2 separate regions of the Homo sapiens genome follow, and region 1 is linked to region 2. Evidence: promoter capture Hi-C in 16 types of primary human blood cells and fetal thymus (Javierre and others, 2016). All regions are on one chromosome and are shown on one strand. The core of a region is centred on a gene start or on the middle of the fragment in contact, and the rest is flanking DNA. Distances in the headings are between cores, read along the strand shown. Region 1 has its middle 4.2 kb from the start of SETD7. Region 2 holds the start of SLC7A11 (solute carrier family 7 member 11).

Evidence for each region. The method cuts DNA at HindIII sites, captures the fragments that hold promoters and counts their contacts. A CHiCAGO score of 5 or more calls a contact.
Region 1: a contact is called between a fragment that was not itself captured here and the fragment with the promoter of SLC7A11 in region 2, in 1 of 17 cell types (monocytes). The highest score is 7.4, in monocytes.

Annotation. Positions count from the first base shown.
Region 1 is chr4:139,557,621-139,563,245 of GRCh38, reverse strand. No RefSeq gene overlaps it. Among named protein-coding and RNA genes, the nearest start is that of SETD7, 4.2 kb to the right of the region's middle. The HindIII fragment of the contact is 1,271 bases long and covers 1,052-2,322 here.
Region 2 is chr4:138,240,009-138,245,898 of GRCh38, reverse strand. It overlaps SLC7A11 (solute carrier family 7 member 11), which reads left to right and starts at 3,550. Exons shown (of 12, transcript NM_014331.4): 1 at 3,550-4,106. The coding sequence starts at 3,830. RefSeq lists enhancers at 3,296-3,535, 3,005-4,204. The HindIII fragment of the contact is 788 bases long and covers 3,370-4,157 here.

The sequences.
Region 1 (5,625 bases), core at 438-2,937, 1.3 Mb before region 2:
AAGTGATGCTTATAACTTCAGAAGACCTACTCTCAACTGGCATTTTTCTCCAAGGAGACAGTACAAGGCCTACCACAGGGCTGCTTTCTTTTTGGTCCTCTATCTTGAGCACAGGAGCATTTGAGCAGGGCTCTTTAAATTTGTCTGAAAGACATTCCAAAAGTTGGCCACAGCATCTTTTCCCAAGAATTGATCTATGGACTCAGCAAGGAGGATCAATAAGACCTTAAATGACCTGAAAGGACACGCCAGATCCAAAGAGGCTGCAAGACAGGTCTCCAGCAAATACATACAGGAAGGGCTGGCTTAGCATCAAGCACCTCCGGGTGAGGGCTGCCTGTAGATCGAGGGTTGTCATTTCAGTGCCAGGTCCCAGAAACACTCTAATCAACCTGTCTTTGTTTGTGACTGAGTGAAGAGGACCACATGGGTATTTTCATTTCTGGATATTGGATTCAAAGCCAGACAGTCCCATTTGGAAAATGAAGAGGACACTTTGCCCTCCATCTATGTTATAGTAGATGGAATCTGCATCCTCAAGGTGGCGTTCCGTTGCCTAAGCTATCATAGCAAAGAGCCAACCTCTCCACTCCTGCACAGAATAGAAATATCTTTGAGCTGAGTGCCCAGGAAAACTTGGATGACTGTATCACAGGACAGGCCACGTGGGTCTTAATATGTCTCTGGTCTCTTTCTCAGAAATCATGGTAGCCTAAGAAGGTTGGCCCACTGTTGATGGCTTGTGAAGCAGAAATGAGGTGCTTTCCCAAGAACTTGAGAACCAGGTTGCTCTCAGAAAGTTTGACTACCAAAATCTGCACACTCAATGGTTTTGACTAGAATTCAGTGGGCATAAACCAAGAGAGTGACTCAATTTGTGACTGAGAAGTTTGAGGATTACCTCAAATTCCCATTAAAGTGACTTGGCTGTAATGCCAGGAAGATAGAGAATGTCATTATGACTTAGAAAGTGTAAATCTGCCTAATGGGCTGTATAGGACGCTGTGTGGAGAATCAGGTTTGGAGAAACTAGAGCACGGAGAAAGAAGCTTGAAGCCTCAGAAGCCATAGGGCCCATCTAAGCAGAGGTGAGTGGGATGGGTGGGCAGCCTCATTCTTTCAGAACACTGTATCAGAGTATTTGTCTTGTGGACCACACAACTAATGTCCTTCATTCTACTCCAGATAACTAAGCAAACTTTTGGATGGAATTTGTCTTCTCAAGTGCATTTATTTATATAGAGAGATCTTTTGCCCTGACAGTGTGAGTATTCTGATCTGTCCATCATAATTCAGGCATACATCTCAGTCTCTCGGGGTCTAGTTAATGTGAGTCCACTTGAGGAAGGTCAAGAGCTGACCCTTGATGAATGTTATGACATTTGTGGTAAATAGGTCAGCTGGAAATACTCCTCTGCCCATCCTGGATATTGTAGTGTCAAAAGAGTATACCATGTACCTGCCCTCTGCAATGTCTACTTTTGCAGAGGACCAATTGCAGGACTCAATAATCTTAATTTTAGCCTAGTAAAGTAATTTTTCAAAAACAATTAGAGAAAATAATATCTATGAAAACACATTTGGTTTTGGTGGCGGTTTGTCTTTATTTTTCAAGTTTCTGCAATCCTATTGTTTTTCTAAAGTAATTTCTAAAACAGATGCCCCTTTGAAAACTATTTCCAATTTTTCTTTGTGTGTGTGTGTGTGTGTGTGAGGGTTTTTTTTGTTGTTGTTTGTTTTTTTGAGATGGAGTCTCACTCCGTGGCCCAGGCTGGAGTGCAGTGCAGTGATGCCATCTCGGCTCATTGCAGCCTCCGCCTCCCAGGTTCAAGTGATTCTCCTTCCTCAGCCTCCCAAGTAGCTGGGACTACAGGCATGCACCACCAGTTTTTGTATTTTTGTAATTTTTGTATTTTTAGTAGAGACAGGGTTTCACCATGTTGGCCAGGCTGGTCATGAACTCCTGACCTCAGGTGATCCACCTGCCTCTGTCTCCCAAAGCGCTGGAATTACAGGCGTGACCCACCGTGCCTGGCCTCATTTTTTTTTTTTCAATCATTTCACTCAGCAGCTTCACTAGGCCCAAGCCTGACATAAGAGTTTTCATATCCCATAATGCAAAAAACCCCAAGAACTCTGTGAAGGAACAATATTGGCCCAGAGTCGACCCAAACAGGGAGATCTGGGCTGCATCTTCCCTCCCCTCCCCGCCCCAGAAAGTCTAAATTTAGTTTACTGGATACCCTGCAATGACATTAACATGTCATTGCAACATTAACATGTTGCAAAAACAAGAATCAAGCAAAAGAGAAAGAGGAAGCTTAATGTGGCATGAGGTATTTTAATACCATGGCAACTGTGGTGTCTTCTCTATTATTTAATTCACTTCCTTAGGTCAGGTTATTCTGCCCTCTCTCTCTTGCACTTCCTGTTGCTGTAATCAAATCAGGTCACCCTGAATCTGTAAGTCTTCTTCCTGACTGCACTCATGTCTATTTCCAGCAGAATGAATTTTCTCCATTTCTTTCTTTGCTCCCTGGACCTTTATTTGGTGCCCTTGATGTCCCTGCTCTTCCCAGTGCTCCACAAGCTGCAAACGCTTCCCTTTCATCCCCATCTCCTCCCCCACCCGTCTCCTCCTCGCTGCTCCTCTCCCAGCCCCTCCCTCCAGCTTCTGCAGTTGTCACTAACACAGTTAGCCACTTGATTAGTGACTCAGTGATTCAGAACCCAGGAACCTTGGTTCTCCTAAAACTTCCATGCTTCCCTCCCTAGAGTCAAGATAAAGGTTCTCCCCTCACCTGCCTGCCCAGATAGAGCCATTAACGTGAGAGGACTTGAGTATTCAGTTTGTTGGAGTTGCCCTGGCTTCTTCCCATTTCCTTTTTATGTGCCTTTTCCTGGGGCTTCTCAGGCTCTATTTACCTTTTCTCCAGAAAAGGTGGACAGAGAAGGTTTGAGCTTCGAATTTATGTAGCCCAACTCTTCATTTACAGATGGGAAAACGAAGGCCCCCCCCCCGGCCCCCGCAGAACTGAATTGCCCAGTTGCTTGGCTAGTTCTTGGTGGAACCAAAACAGACAAAGCAAAAACTCAATCAAACTGGCTAATTTGGTGGGAAAAAATCTTGTGAAGGAGTGAGCAGTGCCAAAACGAGACTTGATGATTATTTAAAAGGTCTTTCACTAATTTTATCCTTGTCATCCTGCTGGCGGTGTAAGCAAGTGATGGAAACCAGAGCCAGGCCAGCAACCATAAAGCCACCAGGGCTTCTGGAGAGGCTCTGATGCGACTTCCTACCGCTGAGGTCTCAGAGGCTCCTCCCTCCCAAATACATGGAGACCCAGAAGACTGCTTGGGCCCCTCCACTCCCTGCCAGCGGGCAGGATGAGGAGTCAGTAACAGCCAACAGTAGTGAATCCCACATAAGTTCCACATTCACTACTTGTTTCACAATTCGCTTAGCATGCATAGCAGCGAATTGACAGAATTGTTTCCCCTAAATGTAGGAAGGTGCATAAAATACAAGAAGCTTGTAAAAATATATTTATTGCAAAAGTTATATCAGTCTTGTATGTAAGCACCAGCCTTCTCCAGGGAAAGACAGGGGTGGTAGAATGAATAAAATTAACTCAGTATTTTGACTGCTTGCTGCAATGGAAGAGGGAATTATGTTTCCCAAGCTGGGTATGAAGAGAAGGAATATAGCCTTGGAGGCAATGGAAACTAAGCCAGAGCAGCTTAGAAAAGTCACCCCTCCTCCTGATTCAAGACCAAAGACAGGGAAAAAAAAGTCACTCTCAGTGTGAACATGAAAGCAAGTCTCACCCAGCCTAGATGTTGGATGTCCTGTGCGGTCCCGTTCCTCCCTGGTAGAGCTTGTTCTGTCTCACTGGGATCTGCCAAGTTAGGAGCTGAGCCACACTACTTCTGCTGCTGCTGTTGCTGCTGCACATTGTTTGTGATTAAGAGTTTTATTGATTTTCTAGCCCATGACCACATTGGTGGGGACAGAGTACGACAGGGGAAACTGGTGGAAAGCCAAGTAGAAAGAGAGTTTATGAAATCAGCTCTCAATGAAGAAAACTGTGGGAAAGAATGCGATGGAAGCAGATTTGGGGCCAGTCGATGTGGGAAAGTAGAACAACTCAAAAATGCTCTTCAGATTTGAACTGAAACAAAGCACTTTGCCAAAACATAGGAGGAGAATCCAGTCTGTGAGAAAGCCTCAGCACTGTTTATATAAAACAGAATATTCCTATCTGCAAAATCATTGCTGACAATGCTTAACCCACATTCTGTACCAGGCACTGTGTTGTGTTCTAGGACCATAAATAAGAATCAGTCCGTCTAGAGAAGGAGACTCGAAACATACACAACATGATTTGTAAAGATACAAGTGGATCTTAAGAGAGTCATAAAAACATTTTGCCCCAGCTTTGGGCCCAGAGCCAGCAGGAATGAATGGTGGGGGAAGAGGGATGGGACTGTGTCCCTGCTGCTGCCTGCCTCATGTGCAGATCTGGTGAAGGTTCTCTGTAGTTTGACCCCGCATCACTACTGACTTTGCTAGAAAGACCCTGCTCCCTTCCTGTCCCTGCCTCTTGTAGGTCCAGAGGACCCCTGCTTCACCGACGGCGGGGGCCGGGGTTGGGGGGTGCCGTAGGCAGGGTTTCAGGTGTTCTCAAGGTAGTAGGTAGAAAGGGAGCGCTTGACAGTTTGGGTGCTTAGTACAGGCTGGGAAAACCTCACAGCACCAAGGGGACAGTTGGACACTTGCAACATGATTCCTCCCCTCTCCTTCACTCCCACACGTACCCACCCACCATGAAACTGTGTCTTCTGTACGTCTTGAGAGATTTCTTCCAGCCTCCCAGCCCTGCCTCACTGCCTTTGAGTAAGAGAATAAAGTCTTTTTGCTGCTTCCTTCAGCTTTCAGCATTGTTTTTCACCCTGAAAATCAACTGGAAACTGGGGAAGACGAGTATCTGGTATGTTTTAGTGCACCAGTATAATATGCAAGGGAGGGGGTGATATGTAAAAAGGTTAAATGAGAAAAAATATCATATAATTCAAAACCAGTGAGTGACCGAGCTCAGTAAATGATGGCTTTTTAAAAATCAGATATAAAATCCTGTTTCTGTGGTTCATGTTTGAAAATGATGTAACCTAAAGTGGCTCTTTCATCTTCCACTGCACGTACACCTTCTCTGTTTAGCCTTGGACTCCCAGTATCTGCACTGGAGGACTTTAAGGAGGTCAAACCTAAGCCAAGAGACTTCAGAGAGGTATAGACTAAGCTAGAGGGTGTCTTGCTTGAGCCAAAGAACCTCAGAGTGCTCTAGCCTAAGCCCCAAGGACCTTATGTCAATGTAGACTAAGCCTCTAATCTGGAGGAATTCAGGCTGGCTGGCTGGGCTCCCAAGACACCTCTGCAGGTGAGCAGCACCAGGACTCAAGTCTCCTAACTTCTGGTCCAGGACCCTCCCCTTTCTAAAACAGTCAAAGGGGCTGAAATTCCTGGAAGTGTGTGGGGCTAATGTCCCTAGCATTGTTCTCTTTTTCATAGAGGAAAAGCTGACTTTAAGAAACAAGCCGGCAATACTTGACAAAAATATCTACCAT
Region 2 (5,890 bases), core at 2,301-4,800:
GGATGCACCAATTTGTGTCCCCCCACCAGCAGTGTAAGAATTCTGGTTGCTCCATGCTGTCAGTACTCCTGGTATTGCCAGTCTGTCTCATGTGAGCCATTCTCAGTGGGAATTGATGGCTTATTGTGGTTTCGGTTTTAATTGCCCCAATAGCTAATACTGTTGAGCAGTTTTTTACAAATGAATTGACTATTTTATTGAGCATCTGTTCAAATTTCTTGGCCATTTTTTATTGGGTTGTCTGTCATTTTCCTATTTATACAAACTTATTATTTATTCTGGATATGAGACCTTTGCAAATTGCAAATATTTTGTCCCATTTTAAGATTCACTTTTATAATCAAATAATATATTTCAATAAACTCAAAATCTTAATTTTAATGTATTACACTGTATTTTTCTCTTTTTTGTATTAGGGCTTTGTGTGTCCCTTTTAAGAAATCCCTGCTTACACAAAGTTTAGAAATATATTCTGCATTTTCCTCTAGATCAGCACCGTCCAGTAGAATTATAATGGAAGCCACAACTTTGAACCACGGATATGATTTTAATTTTTAGTAGCCATAATAATAAATAAAATAGGTAAAACTAGTATGAATAATACAAATTGTTAATAACTTTTTTGTTATTTTTCTTTAAGACTTCAAGTTCTAGTCATATTTCAAGGGCTGATAACCACATGTAACTAATTATTATCATATCAGGTGACCCATTTCTAGAAGCGTTCATGATGCACCATTCAAATTTAGCTCCATGATCCACGTGCAATTGACTTTTGTGTGTGTTATTAGGTAGCATACCTAGCAAGGAAACTAGGTAGCTTACAGAAGCAAATGAAGGTCTTCAGGATCCCGAGCCAATCTGGGTCCCTTAGGAACTAACATAGGGCATGATAGTACTAGGACTTTCTGAATATCTCTAATTTCTGCACATTCTCTGTTATTCTGTGAGGATATTTGCAACACGCCAGGGAACATGGCCACCAGTTGTTGTCAGATCACATCTTTACAATCTCCAACAACAGATGAAAAAAGCTGATTCTAATTCTGTTTAGAAATATCCCAGCTCAGGTAATATTCCAATACTCTGCAGCCAGAGCACTGGATTATTTTTGGCCAGGCCTAGATGATATGCCTGTATTTATAACCATGGGACAGAAATTGTTACTAGAAAACGGTAGCTACCAGTATACATTATTTCTATTTCTATTACGAGATGCTGTGAGGAAGCTAGGACTATTTCTTGTGCACAATAAGCAGTAAATAAGTATTTGCGAATAGCACTAGGATAGTCTCATAATTTGACAGCTATACTTAAAATAAGGCCTAATACAGGATGAAAAATATGTATTCATTTGCTTTGAACACATTTTTATGATACACAAGTATTTGAGGACCATCCAAACTCTTAGTTTACAAGCTTAGAACTGGCAATTTTAAGAGTTCAAGGCAATTCAACATTTTCTTTATAAACTGCATTTTCTACAGATTTTGGGGTGCTTAGAAGAGGTACACTGGTGCCCTTAGCAGCAATGTGCAGCTTTGCAAACATTCTGAGTGGTGGCCTCTATCTTACATGAAAGTACAATCCTTTTGGTTTTTAGTCTAACATCAGCCATTTTTCTTCATAATTAAAAAAAAAATACTGTGAGGAGGAAAATGTTATTTAATATTGAAAGAATAATCGTCCTTTATAATTCATTCAGTTTCCTATCTGAGTGGGGTCTTTGGCTCAACTTATGAGTTCAGTTATTTATAACAAAATTTAAAATTAAAGTGTGACACTGTGTTAATTAGAGAAAGTTGCTGTTCCCTGAGATTCCTAGTGTCCTACTTTTACCTCATATTTCTTCAGAGCTAATATGTTTCTCTTACTGGGAAAGAAGAGCTGCTCCTTAGGTCCATTAATCAGGAAAATTGTGTGAGTGAAAGGAGATGTAGGAGGAGGAAGAGAATTGGAAAGAAAAGAATCTCTATTTAGCTTCCTTCTTTGGGAGTTTTAGCAGGATTGCATGAGGAAAATGATCCATTTTTGTTTTTTGAAAGACATTAACAACTGAGAAAAAGTATTTATTTTGGTTTTATAAAAACTTTAACTTGGTGTAGCTGAAACCAATTATATAGAATTTAGATAGATAATTTAAAAAGGAGAAAATGTAGCCTCAATTATTTGGATGGCAAAGCATTGAGGTGGTGTCATTTTCTCAGGTGTCAACATAACAGAAAATGGTTCTGACCTTTTCCATGCTACTTTCCTAATGGCGATTTCTCATTTCTTTCTTTGATCATCCTCACCATACTTGACTCCCTTCTTTCCCTGCCAACCTCTCGCACACAGGCTTTTTGTTTGTGGTTTTTGTTCAAAGGTTCAGAAGCTTATTTAATGGTGCGTATAAAGGTAGCTTCAGGGTAATGATAACATTCAATTCTTCTCACTGAATCCAAAACCACATGTAACTATAGCCAAAAATGATATCTAGGATTTCTTTTCTTTTCATATTTGTTTTTTCTTGACACTTGGTTGAGAAAGTTAGAAGGGTTTAAAAATGTTTTGCCTTTTTGACTATTGCAAAGTAAATATTTTAATTTAGCTTACATTTTTAATGCATTTTAAATTTATAATAATAACAATAGTTTATATAATGTGGAAAAAAGTCATACATAATATCATTACTTTCTATAACTACCATTCTGTTTTCCTTTACAGGCTTTTGCTATATACATATTTTTATGTAATTGTAATTGTGTAATTTTGAACTTAGAAATTTTTTTTGGTAATTCAAAGGAACAACATGACAATGAAGGATATGTATCTTTTACATAGTTCAAAAAAATCACCTAGTGCTAATGAGAATCAGAAAATGACTATTTTCTGGAGTCATGGTGAATTTTGTATTAGTCACACTCGGATGGTGATTTAAAATACTGGTTTATTATGAGTAGTAAGAAATAATTTTATCTTTTAATGTTGAGGAAGGCTTATAGTTGTGTGTATGTGACAGAAGTATAAAGTGTAGAATCTTTAATTTTGTAAATATTGGATTTGACTGTATTGCCTTATAAAAAACTCAAAATAAAAAAATAAAAAGCATTACACAAATTATGAAATTCAAACTGTGTTGTTATAAACAATGTAGCTTTAGGATACATTCTACTCACAAAACAGTCGCATGTAAAATGTTTTTATACACGCATTAAAGAAAAAGAAACTCCTTAAAATGAAGTAACTATTTCCTGTTTCATTTTGTTTGAACAGCTTTTGTTGCTCACTACGAGTTGCTTTAAATCTCTGGGAAGGTCTGTTCCGAATTTACTACTTCTGGATTGGCTAAAATCTCTTTAAAGTGTGTGCTTTGTTCTCTAAAAAGCTTAGGTCAGTTGAGCAACAAGCTCCTCCTGTTTTTTTCTTTTTTTAAAAAAAAGAGCTGAGTAATGCTGGAGGCTTCTCATGTGGCTGATGCAAACCTGGAGAATTTGCATCATCATTTAGCTGTAGTAAGTTGGTGTGACAGGCAGGCGCTTAAATACAAGCCCATGAGGAAGCTGAGCTGGTTTGTAATGATAGGGCGGCAGCAGCAGCAGCAGCAGCAGTGGTGGAACGAGGAGGTGGAGAATTGAGAGCACGATGCATACACAGGTGTTTCTGAGTAGTAATTAGATCGCTGTGAAGGAAAAAGCACACCTTTGAGTTTTCACCTGTGAACACTATAGCGCTGAGAGAGACAGTCTGAAAGCAGAGGAAGACATCGATCAGTAACACCAAGAGACACCAAAGTTGAAAGTTTTGTTTTCTTTCCCTCTGTTTTATTTTTCCCCCGTGTGTCCCTACTATGGTCAGAAAGCCTGTTGTGTCCACCATCTCCAAAGGAGGTTACCTGCAGGGAAATGTTAACGGGAGGCTGCCTTCCCTGGGCAACAAGGAGCCACCTGGGCAGGAGAAAGTGCAGCTGAAGAGGAAAGTCACTTTACTGAGGGGAGTCTCCATTATCATTGGCACCATCATTGGAGCAGGAATCTTCATCTCTCCTAAGGGCGTGCTCCAGAACACGGGCAGCGTGGGCATGTCTCTGACCATCTGGACGGTGTGTGGGGTCCTGTCACTATTTGGTGAGTGCGACTTTTTCTCTCGTGGGGGCGTGGCTGTGGGGCTGGAAAGCTTGCTTTCTGGGAAAGCAAATGGTAGTTTTTGAGGAGTGAATGGATGGCAAAGGCCACACCAAATTTTTAAAATTTTTGTTCGGGTACGTGAACTACCCAGATGCAGCATCCGCTGTTGGTGTGATCTGGAACACCCTCAAATTGCTTCCTACAGGCTGTACTTTCTTTTCCTGACTAAGACAGGCTATCTTCTGACTTTTCTCTGTGGTGATGAGAGCAAAGGCTAACTTTCATGACCCAGTAAAAAACATGCACACTTTCTGTGCCGGGCAGTTGTACACTTAGCTTGGGCATTCTGGCAGCTGGCATGCTGAATGAGACACCTGTGAAGTGGAACCTGGCATGGGCTATTTAGACATAGAACGGAGTGTTCAGCAGAAGTCTTACTGACTTTTTATTAGCCAAACAAATGGGTGGCAGTCTTTATAAAAATATTTTTTAAGTTCATGTGCTTGTCACCTCTTAATATCCTTTCAAAAGTCCTTGACATGGGAGAGATGTATGATGGCGCATAACTCAATCCCTATCATAATGGGGTATATTGCAATGGCCTGAGCATATTTCAAATTACTTTTCAACCTTTCATCTCTTCTCAATACCCATACACTTTTGCAATATAAGTTTTAAAACTTCAGTTGGGCGTTAGTTTTCTGTACTTGCCCAGATCTGTTTTTTTCATTATATTTCACTTGTTCTCCAGGGACACAGAGAATTTGTCCACCTGTTCACTAAATTAATCTGAAGGGAACTGGCAGAAGTATAATTATGAATTTTTCTTCAAAGTTTATGTCTCTTCTATTGATCTGAGAATTAATAGTAAAGAGGTAAATAAATGCCCCCTTATGGAGTAGGCAAATTACTAGAGAGCTACCTGAGTTTGTTGTAAAGATGATAAAAACTGGTGAACTGTCAAACATTAAATTTGATTTATGCTATGAGGATTTATTTACTCTTCTTGGGAAAGATTCTGTACTTTAAAGTTGCTCTTTGTCTTAACTCTGGGACTAACACTAACTAACAAGTACTAACGCTAACTCTAGGACTAATTAACAAGTACTAACTCCTGTTCCCATGTGTACCAATCAATTCATTCTTTCTACTCAGGCCTTGTGATGTTTTAAATCATTGGTTTGACACTCATCTAGAGAACTCAAATTCCATTTTTTTTTTTTTTTTGAGACAGAGACTCGCTCTTTGCCCAGGCTGGAGTGCAGTGGTGTGATCTCGGCTCACTGCAACCTCCGCCTCCCAAGTTCAAGCAATTCTCCTGCCTAAGCCTCCCGAGTAGCTGGGACTACAGGTGTGTGCCACCACGTTGGGCTTATTTTTCGTATTTTTTAGTAGAGATGGGGTTTCACCATGTTAGCCAGGATGGTCTCGATCTCCTGACCTCGTGATCCACCCACCTCAGTCTCCCAAAGTGCTGGGATTACAGATATGAGCCACCGCGCCCGGTCCTCAAATTCCATTTTTAGGAAGAAGTTATTTTAAATAGAACTTGTTAAAACAAGTAGTATAGAAAGATTTATAGAGGAATTATTTGGGGTTTTTAGAGAGAGTTTGTGGTATTATTTATAACTAACTTGTGCTTTATTAAATATTCAGTAACAATTGTGTATCATTATTTCCCAGTATTACTTCCCATCTTTATAAAATAATTTGGAGTAATATCATTATGAAAAACTCTAATAGTACCCTTAGCCACTATTAATATTAAAATAGCTCTGGTATAT